Regions from separate parts of the Homo sapiens genome. Here region 2 is linked to region 1. The links are contacts of gene promoters, found by promoter capture Hi-C in blood cells and fetal thymus (Javierre and others, 2016). All regions are on one chromosome and are shown on one strand. Each heading gives the region's core, a stretch centred on a gene start or on the middle of the fragment in contact. The rest is flanking DNA. Distances are from core to core; before and after follow the strand shown. Region 1 holds the start of ZNF160 (zinc finger protein 160). Region 2 overlaps ZNF701 (zinc finger protein 701).

The links. Contacts are between HindIII fragments. The CHiCAGO score rates a contact against its expected background, and 5 or more counts as called.
Region 2: a fragment that was not itself captured here is called in contact with the fragment with the promoter of ZNF160 in region 1 in 1 of 17 cell types (neutrophils); the score reaches 6.3 in neutrophils.

Annotation. Positions count from the first base shown.
Region 1 is chr19:53,100,575-53,105,336 of GRCh38, reverse strand. ZNF160 (zinc finger protein 160) reads left to right here and starts at 1,915. Exons shown (of 6, transcript NM_001322131.2): 1 at 1,915-2,072. RefSeq lists a silencer at 1,463-1,872. The HindIII fragment of the contact is 3,069 bases long and covers 673-3,741 here.
Region 2 is chr19:52,570,871-52,575,632 of GRCh38, reverse strand. It overlaps ZNF701 (zinc finger protein 701), which reads right to left. Exons shown (of 4, transcript NM_018260.3): 2 at 1,471-1,556. The coding sequence starts at 1,485. Among named protein-coding and RNA genes, the nearest start is that of ZNF701, 3.0 kb to the right of the region's middle. RefSeq lists an enhancer at 4,309-4,762. The HindIII fragment of the contact is 7,533 bases long and covers 1-4,762 here.

The DNA of each region.
Region 1 (4,762 bases), core at 666-3,165:
GTTGAGGCTAGAAGTTCAAGACTTGCCTGGGCAACATAGTGAGAATCCGCCTTTGCAAAAAGTAAAAAAATTAGTGGAGTGTGGCGGTGCAAACCCGTAGTCCCAGCCACTTGGGAGACTGAGGTAGGAGGATCACTTGATTCCAGAGTTGAAGGCTGCAGTGAGCTATGGTCTTGACACTGCACTCTAGCCTGGGCAACAGAGCAAGATGCTCTCTCAAAAAATAAATAGACCGGGCACGGTGGCTCACGCCTGTGATCCCAGCACTTTGGGAGGCCAAGGTGTGGGGGATCCCTCGAGCTCAGGAGTTCGAGTCTAGCCTGAGCAACATGGCGAAACCCCGTCTCTACAAAAAGTACAAAAATTAACTAGGCATGGTGACGTGTGCTTGTAGTCCCAGCTACTGGGGAGATTGAGGTGGGAGGATTGCCTGAGCCTGGTAGATGAAAAGTTGCAGTGAGCAGAGATGACGCCACTGCACTCCAGCCTGGGTGACAGAGCAAGACTCTCTCCAAGAAATATGTAACATTTTTAACATAACATAACATAACATAACAAACTTTCCCTGAATAACTGTAGTCATGCCAAGTGCTCATCCACAGCCTCATAACTTGTGCTTGTGCTTTCTAGCCTTGTTTACTCCTCCATATATGAAAAAAAGAAAAAAAAGCTTTTTAGTTTGTGTCTCTTGGACATTTTCAGATCTTGTGATTGGAACATTCTCTCTATTGCAATAGTCCTTTTGAATAAAATCTTCCTTCTCTAAGTCTGAATTTGTCATTTACAGTGGTAAATATCTTAATTGTTCTGAGATAAATTATGTATATTATCTTTTTGTGGCAAAGGACTTAATATATATTCAGTAGGTGAAAGTAGTTCCTGGGGCCAGGTATGGTGGCTCACGCCTGTAATCCCAGCACTTTGGGAGGCTGAGGCGGGTGGATCACTTGAGGTCAGGAATTCGAGACCAGCCTAGGCAACATGGTGAAACTTCATCTCCGCTAAAGAACGTGGTGGCGGGCGCCTGTAATCCTAGCTACTCGGGAGGCTGAGGCAGGAGCATTGCTTGAACCCGGGAGGCCGAGGTTGCAGTGAGCAGAGATCATGCCACTGCACCCCAGCCTGGACGACAGAGCGTGACTCCGGCTCAAAAAAAAAAAAAAAAAGTATAGGCGTTTGAGGTTGTCATCTCGCACGGAATAGAATAGTAAGTATAAAAAAGGACAATGCAATTTATATCTATTTTTTAAAAGTTACTGCTAATTTCAGGGCTTTTAAATTACTTAATTTTAATCGCAGAAACTTTTCCAGCATGCCATCACCGCTCCGTGTCAACCCATGTTCCCAGACTCCTGGGCTGCTTCAGCGTCAATAACATTACTGGGTAAACGCGCTAGCAAAAAATGCTTTCAACATAAACCGCCTCCATTCTAAGAGGAAAGCAGTTTGGTTTCCAAAATAACCTACACAACTGTGCTTTTAACTTGAAACCGTTTGAAACATCTACGCCGTTCCACAAGACACTACAGATGGCTCTGGGCGCTGGGCTGTGGGCATCACACGAAATCGCAGACCCTAACGTGTCCCGTCCAGCCCCGCCTCTCCCCCGGGTCCCTTCCTGGCGGTCCCTCTGCCTCCCTCCCCCGCGGTCCCTTCGCCTTCCTCCCCCGCGGTCCCTTCCCGCGGTTCCTCCCCGCCCTTCCCCGGCGGCTCCTCCCCGGCCCGCCCCCGGGTCCCTCCACTTGGTCACTCCCCACCCCTCCCCGGTGGCTCCTCCCCGTTCCTTCCCTGGGGTCCCTGCCTGGCGGCCCCTGCTTCAGCCCGGCTCTCTCAACGCCCCGCCCTTTTCCGGTTCCGCCCATCTCGGACCCCGCCCCGGGCCGCTCGGTCGCTTTCCTTCGCGCAGTTGCCCACAGACCCGGAAGTGGATCGTGCGGAGCAAGCATCACACCATGGCGTATGAGTGTTCCTCTGTGTAGACTCAACCTGCGCCTCGCCGTCCCCCATTCGCACACCCGATGCCCGGGGGTCGCTACGGACTTAAAATCTCCGCACCGCACCCTCCACCTCAGGTAAATAGGCCTTGCTGTGTGGGCCCGGAGACGCTTCCTTTTGGGTTAAAGTCGCCCTGAGGCTGGTCCCTGCCCCCGGTCTTTCTGCCTTGGGCCAAGTAAACACGGCCTTTCCCGGTTTTTTAAACGTTTAAGCAGGATTTTCCTGCTTAAAATCCTTTACTGACTCCTCCTCCCGCCCCGCATCGCTTAAAGTCCTCACCGCCTGCCCTGGGCGCCTCCCAGCCTCGCTCTCGTCGGCCCCTGGAGCGCAGCGCCGCCGACCCAGTCCCGGGGAGGCCGCGCCTCCGCCTGGTCCTGGGATCCTGCACATCCCACCCCTGTCCTAAGGCGCCGTCGCCCCCCACCTCCCTCCTCCTCGTGCCGGGCCCTGCTGCTCCCCAGGCCTCCCCTTCGCAGTCACCGCTTCCCTTGAGCCCTCGTTGGGGAGGTGCCCGGGGCCCGTCCTGTGACACCCGGTGTTTTTGCCTGCCCAGCTCCACCCCCTGGAAAATGTACTCCTCCAACATGCAGACATCTTACTACAAACCCTCCAGTGAATGTGTGGCCCAAGGGAATCAGGAGAAAGAGAGACAAAGAGCCACTGAGAGGAGATGGAAAAACCAAGAAAGAGAAAAGAAAAATGAGGGAGACCCATAAACAGATGGCAAAGTGGAGGATGGGTGAGAGATTTGCAGCGACAGAGTGAAAGAAGCAGTCAAGAAAGTAGCAGGGGCAGAAAAGCAATTGGCGAAATGTAGAGAAAAGCTCGATGTCCCGAGATGCAGGACAACAAGATAAGGAGAGGGACAGCAAAGAAGGAGCCTCCTCAGACAGAGAGTGGGGGAGAGGAGAAAGGATTTGGCCGAGGGCAGACAGAGCTGCGTGGTGCTGGGACAGCTGGAGGGGACAGCTGGTGACAAGGCGAGCAGAGGGAGCACCACAACACAGGGAGGCCTGGGATCTGGGAGTGCCAGAGAGTGGGGATAAGCGGGTGTAACAGGGAAGAGGGGATTTAACAGGGAGAGCAGAGGAGGCGCGGAGATGGGGTAAGAAAGAGGCAGAAATAGATGGAGATTGGGACGATGAAAAGATTGGAAAGAAAACGCCACAAGAGGTGAAACAAATTGGAAGAATGGAGTAGAACAGATATAAGGGGAAAAAACAAAGAAGGGAGAAACAGCAGAAGAAAAAAGAGGCACAACATCGTCAGAATCCTAGGGGGAAGATAAAAGGGGAAAAAGGCTGGAGAGACAAGGTGAAAGTGAGAGGCACAAAATGGGGGAGAGGAACACATAGTTATAAAGAAAGAGGGGCGCCCTGGGGCCAGGTGAGAGGTGAGTTGAGATTGGATATGACAATTTGATTTCTCTATTTATAATGTGTTACATTTAAATTGTAATCTAATTGTTTAAATTCTACATATAAGGATGAGAATTACAAAGCTCTGTGTAAAAGGCTTGTGCATTTTACAATTATGGCATAAGAGGCTAGCTTTCATTTGCCCATGCTGTTTAGCCATTGGGCAGTGACTTGCCTCATTCAGTTATGGGTCTCCCTCTTCCTGTTTCCGAGGATGGGGTAGGGTGGGGGCAGTGAAGAGAGGCAAGGAGTGACTGGCTGTGTCACTGCCTGGTGCCTTGTATTTACCTTTCATCTCACAGTTCATGCTGAAGGTTGAGATGAAGCTTATCTAATTCAGTCTCTTTTTCTATATGTAATTATTGCTGAAGTAAGCTTTTGTGGAATCCTGTATTGGCTCATGTCATTCTTTTCTAAATGTGATATATTTTCAATTTTTTCCCTTTGTAGAATTCCATATATAGTTAATATATCATATACATATTAAATAATATATATATTTTCAAAATGGTTTCCATTTGAAGTTAATTGTGTTGAGTTCAGATTGAGGTCTGCATGCTTTCTACTCTTTATCATATATTGGAAATACTCTTTGGTAGTCAGTAGGTAACTTTATTCATTTTTATTTATTTATTTATTTATTTTTGAGACAGTCTCGCTCTTTCACCCAGGCTGGAGGGCAGTGGCGTGATCTCAGCTCACTGCAACCTCTGTCTCCTGGGTTCAAGTGATTCTCCTGCCTCAGCCTTCCAACTAGCTGGGATTACAGGTGTGTGCCACCACGCCTGGCTAATTTTTTGTATTTTTAGTAGAGACGGGATTTCACCATGTTGGCTAGGCTGGTCTTGACCTCCTGACCTCAAGTGATCCACCTGTCTCGGCCTCCCAAATTTCTGGGATTACAGGCGTGAGCCACCGCTCCTGGCCCTTATTTATTTTTTTTGAGATGGAGGTACTCTGATGCCCAGGCTGTAGTGCACTCGTGTGACCTTGGCTCACTGCCACCTCCACCTCCCAGGTTCAAGTGATTCTCCTGCCTCAGCCTCCCAAGTAGCTGGGATTACAGGCACCTGCCACCACACCTGGCTAATTTTCGTATTTTTAGTAGAGATAGGGTTTCATTATATTGGCCAGGCTGGTCTTAAACTCCTGATCTCAAGTGATCCCTCCCAAAGTGCTGGGATTACAGGCGTGAGCCACTACGCCGGCCATCAGTAGGAATTTTAGATGGTATGAATGTGTATTTGGTAAAGATATCAGTGACGCTTTTTTTTTTAACGTTAACATAAGAACCTATTAACTAATTTTTTTTTGGAGACGGAGTCTCGCTCTGTCGCCCAGGCTGGAGT
Region 2 (4,762 bases), core at 2,003-4,502, 530 kb after region 1:
AACTACTTGGAAGGCTGAGGTGGGAGGACGGCTTGACCTTGATGGTGGAGGTTTCAGTGAGCTGCGATTGCACCAAGGCATTCTAGCCTGGGCAACAAAGCAAGACTCTCTCTCAAAATAAAATAAAATACATGAAAATAAAATTAATCGAAGTACAAAATTCTATTTTGTATATGTTAAAAAAAAAATAAAACCTACACACACTCACAAAAAACCACGTTAATACAAAGTGTTGTCATTTGTCTCAGATTTTCAAAATATATACATATGTGTGTGTGTATATATGTATGTGTATGTATATATGTGTGTGTATATGTATGGGGTTGTGTGTATATATATAAAGGTTTTAAAAATACAAAAAGTAGGCCAGGCACAGTGGCTCATGCCTGTAATCCCAGCACTTTGGGGGGCTGAGGCGGGTGGATCACAAGGTCAGGAGATCGAGACCATCCTGGCTAACACGGTGAAACCCCGTCTCTACTAAAAAATACAAAAATTATCCGGGCGTGGTGGGGGGTGCCTGTAGTCCCAGCTACTCAGGAGGCTGAGGCAGGAGAATGGTGTAAACCTGGGAGGCGGAGCTTCCAGTGAGCGGAGATCGTGCCACTGCACTACAGCCTGGGCAACAGAGCGAGACTCCGTCTCGAAAAAACAAACAAACAAACACAAATATATATATATATGCAAATTTTGTTTAACTGAAGAGGAATCTCATCTTGGTGGAAAAGGATAATTTGGCAGCTGCAAGTACTGCTCCCATATTTGAGAAAAATTGTAACCATTTTTACAAAAAACACCTGTTTCAAAAGCCTCTCCACAGTAACACCACTGTCTCCATCAGCTTAATTTGCTAAGAATGGTTTAATAAATCTCCTGCTATTATTTAGGTTGATTTCATATTCTTTAAATAAGGATGGAATAAAACCCCTGTATCATTCATGTCTGTTTATGAACTTTCCATTCTAATTAGTACAATTTTTTGAGTCAGAAACACAGTAACTCACTCAATTACCTAAAAATGTGGTATAAAATTAGGGAGAAAAGATTTTCCCTTATTGGTCTCCTTTTCTAGAATTTACCACGTACTTTGTGCACATTAATAGGTCACTTCCATTGGCAGCTGCTCTAATCCTGGTCCACAGAGAGTTGACAGTGCATCCAGATGTGGCCCCTGAACAATCCCTGCTGCCCAACAGCACTGACACTGCGGGACCCTCACCCCATCTCCATACATGTCTGGGTGTGAGCCCTTCCCAGGACCATGCCCAGTGCAGCCTCTTCCCAAGTTCATGTCACTCAGTCACAAGAGATGGAATCTAAGTGAGATGACAGGGACTGAGGGAAGGCATGAGTTGAGTGTGAGCAAACCTGTCAGGCAGGACACTTGAGACTCAGAGAAGATTCCCAACTCCAAGATCAGCATTTCTGAAAGGAAGGAGACAGAACAATCCCCCGAGAATATCATCTCACCTGAAGAAGAGCCATCCCTGACTCCTTTGCTTTCCTCTTCCTCTTCCGTGTTTTTTCCTCACGTACCAAGTCTTTAGAAGTCAATCCTGAATGTTAGAAATATGTTGTTTACTGCTCAGAATCAACACACCTCCTGCCTGTAACACAATGACACATACAAAGGTGCCCTCACTCTGAAAAAATATGGTCACCTCTGCTGCCCACTGCACCAGGGATAATAAATTTCTATAAGAAAACTCTCGCTTCCCTCCTGGAGAAGCCCTCACACGCTGCAGCAGTGGGGAGCTGGGCTGGAATGAGCTCCCTTTCAGGGCACAGACCCAGCCCTGACCAAATCCCATGCAGAGGCTCGGTGCGGTGGCTCATGCCTGTCATCCCACCGCTCTGGGAAGCCAAGGTGGGTACATCGCTTGAGCTCAGGAGTTTGAGACCAGCCTGGGCAACATGGTGAAACCCCATCTCTACCAAAAATACAAAAACTTAGCCAGGTATGGTGGTGCACGTCTGTGTGTCTCTGGTCCCAGCTACTTAGGAAGCTGAGGGGGAGGATCAGTAGAGCTCAGGAGTTTGAGACCAGCCTGGCCACCATGGTGAAAACCTGTCTGTACTAAAAACACAAAAATTGGGGCTGGGTGCGGTGGTTCATGCCTGTAATACTAGCACTCTGGAAGGCTGAGGTGGGAGGATTACTCAAGTTCAGGAGTTCAACAGCAGCCTGGCCAACATGGTGAAACCCCATATCTACTAAAAATACAAAAAGTAGCTGGGCTTGGTGGGCATTGGTAAGCCCAGCTACTCGGGAGGCTGAGGTTGGAGGATCGCTTGAACCTGGAAGGTGGAGGTTGCAGTGAGCCAAGATCGCACCACTGGACTCCAGCCAGGGCAACAGAGTAAGACTCAAAAATAAAATAAAATACAAATACAAAAATTAGCAGAGTATGGTGGCACACACCTGTAATCTCAGCTACTTGGGAGACTAAGGCACAAGAATTGCTTGAACTCAGGAGACAAAGGTTGCAGTGAGCCAAGATCACAAGACTGCACTCACAGCCTGGAGGACAGAGCGAGACTCTTTGGAAAAAGAAAAAAAGTGTGTTTCTGATGTGACTGACACAGAGATAATAAAACCTGAGTAATGTGATAGAGACTGATGGGCAGAGGGAAATTCAGTTGGGGGTGGGAGGGCATGGGAGACATTTCTGAGCCAGGACCTGAAGGAGAAAGGGACAGTGCTGTGAGCATTTAGAGAAATAGGGTAAGAGCAGTGAAAATGACCTGAGACGGGAAGGGTTTTGATGTTTGGGAAAAGAGAAAAGCAAATGTGACTGGGGCAGAGGGAGTCATGAGATGAGGGCAAGTTCCCAGGAGGAGCCTGGACAGTGGCAGGGGCCCTGGACACAGGGCTGTGGAGTGACAGTGAGGAGTTGGGCTTTTGTCCTGGGGAACACAGGAAGCCCATGGAGGGTTCCCTGCCAGGGACTGACATGATCTGCTTTAGATTTAGCTGTGACATCCTCAGAACGGGGACATTTTCACCGAGTCACGCTGAGAAGGTCTGAGATGAGTGAAAAGATGTAACGGAATTCTTACATGGTGGCCTGGAAGGGATAAAGGAAAGGGTTGGCCTTATCAAAACTATCCTTGAAAATTAGAGAAGCCTCTTTCACATACCTGGGATAAAGAAACTTCCTTTGCAAGTTCTGATGCCACTGATTCCCAACATTTAATTCTTCCTCACAAGAAAATTACAGTAACATTTATAAAATGCAGATGTACAAAGACACAGCTAGTTACCTTCAAAACAGGGAGGCTGAGTGCGGTGGCTCACACCTGTAATCCCAGCACTTTGGGAGGCCGAGGCAGGCGGATCACCTGATGTCGGGAGTTCGAGACCATCCTGACCAACATGGAGAAACCCCATCTCTACTAAAAATACAAAAATTATCTAGATGTTGTGGCACTTGCCTGTAATTCCAGCTACTCAGGAAGGCCGAGGCAGGACAATCGCTTAAAACCGGGAGGTAAAGGTGGTGGTGAGTAGGCCGGGCTCGGTGGCTCATGCCTATAATCCCAGCACTTTGGGAAGCCGAGGTGGGCAGATCACCTGAGGTCAGGAGTTCAAGACCAACCTGACCAATATGGAGAAACCCCATCTCTACTAAAAATACAAAATTAGCCTGGTGTGGTGGCACATGCCTGTAATCCCAGCTACTAGGGAGGCTGAGGCAGGAGACTCGCTTGAACTCGGGAGGTGGAGGTTGCAGTGAGCCGAGATCGCACCATTGCACTCCAGCACGGGCAACAAGAGCGAAACTCCGTCTCAAAAAAAAAACCAAAAAGGGTTGCGGTGACCCAAGATCACACCATTGCACTCCAGCCTGGGCAACAAGAGCGAAAGTGCATCTCAAAACAAACAAGCAAACAAACAAACAAAAAGCAGGGAAAGAGGGTCAGCTGTAGAACTAAGACATAAGCAAACTTTTTCAATCAAGAATGCTTGGGTGGCCAGGTGCGGTGGCTCACGCCTGTAATTCCAACACTTTGGGAGGTCGAGGCGGGTGGATCACCTGAGGTCAGGAGTTCGAGACCAGCCTGGCCAACATGGTGAAACCCCGTCTCTACTAAAAATACAAAAATTACCTGGGCTCCATCCTCACGTCTTATTTAATCTCTTGTTGCTCCTTCTCCCCAATTCTTCGATCGTCCTCAATCTCCATATATTTCCGCCTCTTATCCCATCTCTGCATCTCTGCCGCTCTCCCTGTTAAATTCTCTCTTCTCTGTTTTACCCCCCGTCCCCACTCTCTAGCACCCCAGATCCCCAGGCGTCCTCCCTGCTGTGGTTCTCCCTCTGTTCTCCTTGCCACCAGCACCACTCTGCTCTGTCTGCCCTGGCTCCAAATTCCTCCTCTCTCTCTCTCTCTCTCTCACTCTGATGAGCCTCCCTCTTTGCTGCCCCTCTCTACCTTGCTGTCTGTCCTTCATCTCTCTGTACATCTAGCTTTTCTCTACATTTCTCCAGTTGCTTTTCTCCTCCTGCTTTCTTATCTTTTTTTTTTCACTTTTGCTGTCTCTTGGCAAATCCCTCACCCATCCTCTACTTTGCCATCTGTTATGGGTCTTTCTCATTCTTCTTTTCTCTGTCTCAGGTTTTCTACTACTCTCTGTCTCCTGATCTCTTTAGCCCACACAATCACAGGAGGGTTTGAAGTAAGACGCCTGCATCCCAGAGAGGCTCATTTTTCAGGGGTTGGAGCTAGGCAGGCAAGAACACACCGTGTCACAGGACTGG